Linked DNA regions of Homo sapiens: region 2 is linked to region 1. Evidence: promoter capture Hi-C in 16 types of primary human blood cells and fetal thymus (Javierre and others, 2016). All regions are on one chromosome and are shown on one strand. Each heading gives the region's core, a stretch centred on a gene start or on the middle of the fragment in contact. The rest is flanking DNA. Distances are from core to core; before and after follow the strand shown.

Region 1 (5,021 bases), core at 1,235-3,734:
TATTACAGGCTTCTTAGGATGCTCTAGGGGAATGGGCATCATTTGTCCCACTGAGGAAGATGAGAGCAAGTGGTCCAAGGGTTGAGTGGAGGTGCTGGGAACAGAAACCCACCTTCCATCTCCTTGGCTAGTGCACTTGGAGGTTGCAGATAGAATTTTAAAAGCATCCTGCCAATGCTCCGTGATAGGCATGGCCATCTCCCATTCAGCTTTGTTTAATCAGATTTCCTTCAAGGGACTCCCGCACTCTCGCAGTTCTACCGGGGCACTGGCAACCCTGAGATGACTCTAGCTCTCCCTGGAGGGCCTTGAAGGTAAGGTTCAGTCACCAGAGAGCAATAACCTCTTCTGGCTGCTTGCCCTTTGCAGAGCAGACAGGACTGGACCCAGACAAGGCGGATTCCTTCACAACTGCCCTGACGAACTGTGTACCCCCAGCCTCGCCCTGTTGGGCTGGGCGCATCCTGGCAGCGCTGGGGCTGCGAAGCCACAGCCCCTGCATGTGCCTCGCGGTTGGGCCTGGACGCCGCTCTTCCTCCAGGTAACTTCGTGAAACGCTAGGAGGCAATCGCCCAGCCTCACTGCGCCTACGTAGCCCACGAAGGGATCTTGCTGGGTTCTCGGAGGTGGCCCCAGCGCTTTCCGAGGGCCGAGAGCGTGGGCGTGGAGGGAAGGAGGGGCCTAGTGGGCGGCGGGCCCACCCCTTTATTCGTGGCCTGCGGCTCCGCTGAGCGTGACCAGATGTGTTGGTGACAGGTTGCTACTCAGAGGTGCGGACAGGAGCTGAGCGCTGCTGCTGTCGGAGCAGACGCGGCGTTCCCGGGTTGTGCTCAGCCCCTGCAGCTGCCATCGGCTGGAGAAGTCCAGGTTAGGAAACGCATCCGGGGAGGGGATCCTAGAGAAGGGGCGCAGCCAAATACCCGGGAGGTGGGATAGGTGGGAGGGGAGTCGCTGGACTCGGCGCCAGGGCAGATGGTGGACAGGGCGCGCTGGCCCGCCCGGCAGTTCCCAAGGAACCTATGTTCCTGCAGAAGCCGCAGGTGTCCGTCTTGGGATAACTGCGGAGGGAGCCAATCCAGCCCAGCTTGGGCGGGAGCATCGCGTGCCCTGGTCCAGTGGAACGGGAGACTGGCCAGCGAGCCTGGACTCTGAGCTAAGCGTACTGGCGGGCGACGCCGACAGCGTCCGCGCTAAGGGTGGGGGACTGGGAAGTGGGGAGTGGGGCACTCGGCCGGGATGGAGAGAATGCAGTTCACTAACTGCCACCTGAGAGCCCTGGTCCCCGCTGCCGCCACAGCGGGTCTGTTTGGCAGTCAGGGCGCGAGCTGGTGAGCGGATGCGTGGGCGGAGGGACTGGCGCTACCCACCCAGCAGCCACCCACTGCAGGTGAGTGCCCCTCCCAGGGCGAGGGGAGGAGAAGGGCCTGGCCGCTAGCCCTAGGGTCAGGCTCTGGTGAAAATGGGAAGGGGGATGGGGGCTGAATAGGCTACTTTGTGATGAGACTCCCGTCCCTGTGACACTTCAGGGTCCTCTGGGGATCTGTCATTCCTCTTGCAAGCTCTCTTGTTCTCTGGTCCCTCTCCTCCTCTCCTTATTTCCTCCTCTCCTCTCCTCTCCTCTCATCTCCTCTCCTCTCCTCTCCCTTCATCGTGTCTCTACCTCTATCTCCGCCGGTGCCTCTCTCGGTATCTGTCTCTCAGTCTCTGCCTTCTCTGTGTCTCGTACGGTCTCCTGTCTTTCTTGGTCTCTCGGTCCTGAGCGCTCTCTCGCCCTGTCACTGATGACCGCTGGCTTTTGGCTCTCCGTGCTCGCTCTTCGTGTGTCCCGGCCACGCACGGCTCACCAGCTCGTTTTCCCCAGACGCGGAAAGTCTACCTTCGGCGTGCGGGTTTCCCAAGCGCGCCGGGCCCCGCCTGCGGCCCTCCGGCGGGCTCTGTCTGCTGGAGGCGCTCCGCTAACCCTGCTGTCGCCTCTTTCCACCAGCGCACCGCCTAGGCAAGCCAGCTGACGCCGGGGGCACAGACCACCCTCCACTGAGTGCGGAGCAGCCAAGGTGAGTGCACCGATGCCCCTTCCGCCCCTCCGATCCCTCCCCAGCTGCCCTGGTTCGAGCCGACTGGAGAAATGAGGCTGCAACAGCGAAGCCAGCCTGCGGCCGCTTTCTCCTCTAAAGACTGGTGGGAGGGCCCGGGAGGCCCCTCGGGCGGCCGCAGCTCTTTGGCTGCCCGCTGCCCCATCCCGGAGTGGAAACCCTGAGTTTCCAGGCTTCGGGCTGGCGGGGTCGCGGGCAGGGCAGCGCGGCTTCCCCTTTAAGGCCGGAGCCGCTCGTCGCCGTGAGTGTGAGGGTGTGTGAGTGTGCGGCGTGCGTGTCTCCTCCTCCCCGAGTGACACAGCAGTGAGAAATGCCTATCAGTAACTTAAACCCCCGAAACTCCACCTTCCGGGCGCGCGGCGCGGAGCCGGGCGGTGGGAATGGAGCGAGCAGATTGAGGCCGCCACTGCAGCGCCGCCAGCATGAACTTGGCCGCGAGCTGAAGCGGCCGGCGGCGGGCGGGCGCGGGGGCACCGGCCGCTAGCCAGGGGGTGATCTGCAACAGGGCTGGGTTCCTTGGCGGCCGCCTGAGTCCAGGCTGCCCGCGCCGGCGGCCGCCCGCCCCTCGGACACTGCCCCCGCCGCCGCCGGAGCTCTGCAGCACGGTAAGGCTGAGGGCGGGTGCAGGAAGTCTGACTGTTCTGGGGGTTCCGGGGTACACTTGTAGCCCCCAGTTATGGTCCCCATCGCTGAGGATCGGGGTCCCAGGGGTGCTTCGAGTCGGTAGACCCTAAAGTTTGCTCTGAGCACACGGCCCACCTGGCGCTGCGGGCGGCCACCCCCTTCTCGAACCAGCCCGGCTGGGCTGGGCGCAGCTCGAAACGCCGGAGACCACGGCCTTTGGCTCGGCGCCCGTCGGGCGTCTGAAATCCGGCGGGGACAGCCACGTACCGGGGAGGAAAGGTAGAAGGGCGCAAGCTCCTCGGGCTACGCTGGGCTACTGGGAGGCTCCCACTCTGTCCCAGCACCCCCGGGTCGCTTGCAGCCTGGGTGTCACCGGCGACGGTGCCTTCACATGCCAGCTGCCTGAGCCCAGGCCAGTAGGCAGTGGGCGCTGGATGAAGGATTTCCCCACCCCAACGCTGTTTGCCGCCTCTGAGCGAGAGTGTGGAGTGTGCGCGCCGAATCCGCTGCCCTGCACTCCCTCCCCTGCCAACTCCTGGGAAGCGCAGCCCGGAGCTGAGCTGGTGTTCAGGGCAGCCCGGACTGGGTTCCTGCGGAGCAGCCCCGGCGCCCCTGCGTCAGAGTCCGCGCTTCAGGTTCCCCAGCATCCGCGCGACGACAGAGCTGGGCGCCCGGCGCCGGCTAGCGCGGGCGGGAAGCCCCCCGGAGCGCCGCCAAATACTTTTCTCGGCCAGTTGGCTTGGCCAGGCTCCGTCCCAATGCAGTGTGTCCGAAGCCTCCTGGAAAGCTGGAGATGTCGTCTGATTCTGATCCGTGATTAAATTCGGACTGAGCAGACACTAATAGGATTAGCCTGCCAGAAAGCTCGGCCCTGAAGCCATCGGAACCTGTGCAAACACGCGCCTCGGGCTGGAGCATTCACTCCCGCCCCGCCGCGCTTCTGCAGCTGGGTGCGGCTGACCTGGGCACCCGGAGTGTGGGTGTGTGTGAGCGGGCGGGAGCACAGCGTGGCTGGGGGACGTGGGGAGAAGGGGCTGCTTTTGCTGGGGTGGCTTGTCGTTGTTGTTTGGCACCACGGTGCCCCCCGGGGGCGCGGTCCCCACGGTGAACGTGCTGCTCACGGGTAGGCAAACCCAGGCCGGCTCCGGGACATTGTCTGCAAGGGCGAGCGAGCCGAGCTTACTAGAGGCGGCTGCGCTGGAACAAAGGCGCAAAGTCTCCCTGAGACCAAGCAATTTTGAAAGAGTTGGCTAGGGAGAGGGCCTGGGTCTCCCGGGGTAGACCCCCGCGGGAATTGCGCCGCCCCCAGCGGCCCCGGCCCGCGCCTGGGGAATTGTGTTCCCTGGTTGCGGTGAGCCGGCGAGCGACATCGCAGCGGCGCGGCCCAGCTCTTGGCAGGCGTGGGTTGCCGCCCGAGTGCCCACCGGCCGGGCGGGGTCGACCGTGCACCCGCCGGGGCTTCCCGGCCGCCACCGCAGCTCTGGGCCCCTGGAGGCCGCGCAGCTTCTTTCCTTCCCTCCCTCCCACCTCTTCTTGTCTTTATAGATCCCCCCTCCCTCCCACCCCCGCCGCCGCCGCCGCCAACAATCCGCTTTATAAAAAGCCCCTTTGTTTCCCAGGAGGCTGGAGAGAGGGAAGGGGAAAAGGGACGCAGAGGCAGAGGGCGGGGGCGGCTGTCTCCAAGTGGTTTCGAGCCGCTCGGGACAGGAGGGCAAGTGTAGGCGATGGGGGAGGGGGCTGTGTTTCGAGGACCCTCTGTGGGAACCCACGAAGGCGCACGGAGCCTCAGCCCCGGCCCTCGCTGCACGCCCGGCCTGCCAGCCCTGGACACCCTAAATCCTGGCGGCCGGGACGGCCGAGTGGACTGCACTGCGAGCTGGCGGGCGCGCGCAGAGGCCCTAGGCTGCAAGCGCTCCGCGGGGTGGGCAGACGCGACTCGCCGATGCGCTCGCCGGGCTCGGGCATAGGGGGCGCCCTTTCCTTGGTTTCGCTTTGCAGCGGGCGCCCCTCGCCGCCGGAGCTCAGGGCAGCTGTCGCGCCCGCCGGTGGCTAAGACGGAGGCGGCAGCTCGGAGGCTTAGGCCACCCGCGTCTGGCTACACGCCTCATTTCTTCCCGCGCCCTCCTGCCACACCCTCCGCCCCACCACACACAAGGGCTCAAACTCTCCGAGCGCCCTTTGTTTGGAGGCGCGGAGGCAGTGGGAGCCGCCACCTCCGGGGTTCGTGTAGCCTAGGCGGGCAGTGAGGATGAGCGTGCTACTCTGGACTGCGCGCTGGCCTGCTGCCTCTGCACCTAACCCAGC
Region 2 (5,278 bases), core at 2,396-4,895, 120 kb before region 1:
ATGTCTGCACCTGTGCAGATATACCCAGACACAGGCACACGGAGAGACATCCATCTGCACCAATAACATATGCAAACGTATTCCTATGCATACACAGCAGATATGCACACACATCCACATACTCGACTTTACTCCAAACACACGTGCATGCACATACACACACACACTCTGAAATATCTACACCTTCACACACCCAAATATACGTACATACACATTTGTAGCCATGTAGATACACCCGGATGCAGGCACACATCCACAGACCCATACCTATACACACTCCCCCAATGCCCTCCCTACAGCCACACTTGTGCAGTTACACCCACTCACAAACATACAATCAAATACCCATATACATCCACACCCCCCATTTACATACACAAACATCCTCACCTGTGCAGATGCACTCAGCTATGAACACACATCTACACACATGTACATATCTGCATCTGACACACTCATAGATGTACACCCATGAAGATATACCTGATATAGACACACATCCATATGCCCATACACATCCAAATCACATCATACATACACAGACACATAGATGTATCTCATCTGCACATCTACATCCACGCAGATACATCCAGATGTAAACACACATCTGCACATCCATGCACATATACATATACCTACACACACATACACATACATTCACATCTATGCAGACAACACCCAGACACAGACACAAATCCACACAACCATGTATACCTGCATCCCCCAAACACACACACACTCTCATATACATATACATACATACACCTAAACATATATGCACCTTTGCAGATGAACCTAGTTATAGATACAAATTCACACATCCGTTGATGTCCACACTTTCTGCATACAAATACACATATATCTATATACAGAGCTATGTATGTACCTACACACACATGAACATGCACATATATTTTATACACACAAACACACCCCCAGGCACGTATACCCATGTATACACATACATCCATATTCACACATGAACACACACATAAACACACCAACATGCACATAAATATACACACCCACACGAATATACATGCACACATAATATATGCACACGTACATGTGGATACACTCACAGATACACATATACATACATACACATGTGTACATGCAACATACACATATACATACACACAAATACATGGCATGTAGGAGTGTATGTGTACATATCCCAATGTTATATACACATAGTCGCACCTACACACCCAGACGCACATGCATACTGGACACCTATGTACACTCATGGACATGTACACACTCACACTCATTCATCCCAGAGGCCATCTGTCAAAGTCAAGCTCAATGAGCCCTTTCCAGAAATCAGTGCCTGAGGGACAGTCCTAAGGAGCCAGATCTAATTAGCATAATACGAATCTCCCCACCCACCTCAACCCTGGAAACCTTGCTGCCAGCACAGCCAGCCAGTTGGGGAACTCTCCTTGCTCTCTTGAGAAAGCAGTGAGGTCAGTGGCTCCCTCAGCTACACAGCCTACCTGCTGCACCAGTGCTGCCTCCTGCACCAGTGCGGCCTCCTGCAGGAGAACCCATGCCTCTGTTGTGGGGCCCTGCAAGGTTTCCTGGATCAAGGGCAGCAAATATTGTAAATCAGAAGGCAATGCAGGAGAGAACAATGGGGTTGCAGTCATACAGGGCCTGGTGGCCTTGCTAGGGAGCTGGGCCTTTGTGCTCAGGGCCACCAAAATGTTTGAAGAAGGGGAGCGACGTGGTCAGATTTGTGTTTGCAAAGGATTCCTCTGGCTGCCACGTGGACAATGGTGGGAGACATGCAGTTTGGAGGCAGAGGGTCCAGGGAGGAGATTGGCACAGCTATCCAGGGAGGAGCAGAGAGGGCTTAGGCCAGCGTGGGGGAGGGAGGTGGAGCAACCAACAGTGAGCTGGCTGAGAGTCTGGCCAGGACTAAGGCCACAGGTTGGATGGGGGCATGAGGGAGAGAGAAGGAGGGGCAAAACATGACATCCAGATTTCTGGGGTAGGGGACTGGCAGGGCTATAGAGATGGACAGGGACCAGACCAGGCAGGCTCCATGGGCCACAGGAGGGAACTAGGGCTTTATCTGGGGGCCATAAGAAGCTATTGAAAGGCTGGAAGCATAGGAAAAAAAATGTATTGTGCTTATGAGTATCAGGTTACTGGGAGGGGCCAGATGGATGATCTGGAAAGGCGAACAGGACCCTCAGGAACAATTTGCACCAGGTAGAGGGAGGCATGTGGCTATCAAACCAGAGCAGGCAGAGTTAGCCCCTGCCCAGCACCTCCAGGCAGTTCACCAGGACTGCACAGGTGAGGTTGTCCCTGTCAAACTCTGCCTGGAGGCCAGAAGTCCAAAACCAAAATGTCAGTGGGGGGAGTTCCTTCTGAGAGCTGTGAGAGAATCAGTTCCAGGCCTCTCTCCTACCCTCTCGCAGCTTCAAGTGTTTCTTTGCGTGGAGATGGCATTCTCCCTGTGTCTCCACATCATCTTCCCTCTATGTTTGCCTGTCTCTCTGTCTAAATGTCCCCTTTTTATGAAGACATCAGTCATATTAGATTAGGGCCCACCCTAATGGCCCATTTTAACTTGTTCATCTGCAAAGACTATTTTCAAATGAGGTCACATTCACAGGTTCTGGGGGTTAGAATTTTAAGATCTTTTGGGGGAACACAATTCCAATCATAATGTTCATCTAGGCTTAACTATGAGCAGGAGTTCACGGGACCCCTCCTGGGTCAGGGCAGCAGCTGTGGAAGGAAAGCAAACTACTCAGTGCAGGCTGGGCCTGGGCAAGACAGGATCCCAGGTCCTAGAACAATACTCTGCCTGGGGCAGACATTCATTCTAAGACCTGGGATACCAGTGAAGGGCAGGCCTCAGATAAGGAGAGAGAGCTGCCCCAGGAGAGTATGGAAGGGGCACAGAGGCTGTCCAAGGGTGCAGAGGCAGAAAGACTTAGTGTTAGTCACCCTGCCTGGACAAGAAGAGGTGCAGGCAGTGCCTAATTAGTGTACAGAGAGCCTTGGTCAAGCGCTGGGGAGCAGGGGCTCACTGTGCCCCAGGGTGGGGGACACAGCAGGAGCAAGGCCTGAAGCAGTGGCAGCAGCAGCACTGAGAGTGAGGCATGCAGAAGTATTTCTGACTTCCCAGCTCTGAAGCCTGAGAGATCCCTATTTCAGGGATCCAGGTACCTGGTCCCAGGTAATCTCAGTTATCTGACGCTCCCTCTCTGGGCCTTTTTCAGAAGGGACGTAGGGCACTTGTGCTAGGGATGGGCATTTGTAGGTCTGTGAGCTAAGGGATCCAACGGGTGGAAGCTCAAGTGGTACGGAAACTGAGGAGTGGAGCCCAACACGGATGGCATGTGGGAGCATGCATGCTTGTACATGACTGTGTGTGCCCATGTACACGTGTGTGAGCGGGTGTGCCTCTGGGTGCACTTGTCTGTGTGTGCATCATTGTTTACAGGGATTTCTTGTGCCTGTGCACATGGTGGGAGGGAGGCACAGGTGGTCAAACAAGGTTTGCCAGGGAAACTGCTACCTGAGCTGTAGCTAAGCTTGATTTAAACCTATCATAAAAGTATTAGGTGGCCTACTGTGTCACCCCTCAGCCACCATAATCCATCTCCACCTGTCCCAGGCCTCAGCACCCCATCTTCTACAGACACATCTTTTCTGTTGCAGCTAGCAAGGGGCCCGCTGGGTCCCCTGACCGCCTGTGCACGTGCAGTTGCTAAGCTTTCACAGGCCACATTTCAGTCAGGCACAGGCTAGAAGCTTACTTGTTATTTGTTTTATCACTCATAATCCAGAAACAATCTAGCTGCTAAACAGCACATGCTCATTTGGTAACTGAGGTTACCTGGGACCAACTGAGGCCTGGGGTCTAGGCTGGCTAGAAACTGCCAGCAATGGTGGGAACAGCTCTGATAGTGTGGGGCTTGCTTTCTCAGTAAAGAGGAAAACATCTGGGCACATGCCTGTCAGCCCAGGCCTGGATGCAGACAGACAGAGTCAGAAAGAGACAGAGACAGATACACAGGGAGAGAGGGCAAGAAGGAAAGTGAATTGGCATTAGTGAGTTTTTTGGATTTGGATCATGTGCTTTGCCTCTAGGTAAAAGTCCCTTACATGTTAGTGGTTAGGTGATAAATACTACAGGGGCTGAGAGACCACCCTTGGATTGAAGTCCCTTCTCAGCCAGGGGCCTCTCTCTAGTTGTGGGACCTGGCTGCACCTGTCTTCCCCCCATAAATGGGGATGTAAGAGCTGGGCTGTCCAGCTCCCTTGGCTGTTGGGAGGGCCAGATGCAATGCAGCCTGGAGAAGTGCTTTGGGAACTGCTGATCTCTGCCCAGATACAAGAGCATTTTATTGATTTTAAAGGAAATTGAGATTTTGGAAAAATAAGCATGAAGCCCAAAGAAGCAAATATTCACAACAGTAGCAATTAGCATCTATACCTGCAGTCTACACCCTGGCTCACCTGTGCCCAGGAGCGTGGCCCCTTATGCATCTTATATCTTCCAAGTAAATGAATCCTCAGGTACCATTTGCCTCAAACTTACTGTGTAGCCTGGAACCTCCTAAAGCAAGCTGGCTCCATTTTGAATTTCTGCCTTCAAAGTCCTTTAAAACCTCAGCAGTATTTCCCTTCTTCCAATGACAATTTAAAAGTCCCACCTGGGTGCGGTGGCTCACGCCTGTAATACCAGCACTTTGGGAGGCCCAGGTGGGTGGATCACCTGAGGTCGGGAGTTCGAGACCAGCCTGACCAACATGGAGAAACCCCGTCTCTACTAAAAATACAAAATTAGCTGGGCCTGGTGGCGCATGCCTGTAATCCCAGCTACTCGGGAGGCTGAGGCAGGAGAATCGCTTGAACCCGGGAGGTGGAGGTTGCGGTGAGCCAAGATCACACCATTGCACTCCAGCCTGGGCAACAAGAGTGAAACTCGGTCTCAGGAAAAAAAAAAAAAAAAAAAAAGGTCCTTTACATTGCTCAGAAGTCTGGAGGGAGGCAGCCATTCTGAGTGCTTATCCTATTGCCTATGCTGAATTTAGCACAATTATATACAAGATCGCTAACAAGCACGTGGCCTTCCTGCACCATTGCAAAGATCACATTGCTATCTCTATTTGAAAACATCTTATCACCCTTCAAACTGTTTATGTCTGATTGAAATGCTCCATGTGATTCTGCCTCTCTCTGTGTGTATATGCATGTATTTATGTGTGTGTTTATTACACACACAGACAGGCGGGAGAGGAAGAGATAG

Evidence for each region. Contacts are between HindIII fragments. The CHiCAGO score rates a contact against its expected background, and 5 or more counts as called.
Region 2: a contact is called between a fragment that was not itself captured here and the fragment with the promoter of MAMLD1 in region 1, in 1 of 17 cell types (M1 macrophages). The highest score is 5.0, in M1 macrophages.

Annotation. Positions count from the first base shown.
Region 1 is chrX:150,360,833-150,365,853 of GRCh38, forward strand. It overlaps MAMLD1 (mastermind like domain containing 1), which reads left to right and starts at 2,485. Exons shown (of 8, transcript NM_005491.5): 1 at 2,485-2,698. The HindIII fragment of the contact is 7,703 bases long and covers 1-5,021 here.
Region 2 is chrX:150,237,364-150,242,641 of GRCh38, forward strand. No RefSeq gene overlaps it. Among named protein-coding and RNA genes, the nearest start is that of MIR2114, 12 kb to the left of the region's middle. RefSeq lists an enhancer at 1,176-1,677. The HindIII fragment of the contact is 181 bases long and covers 3,556-3,736 here.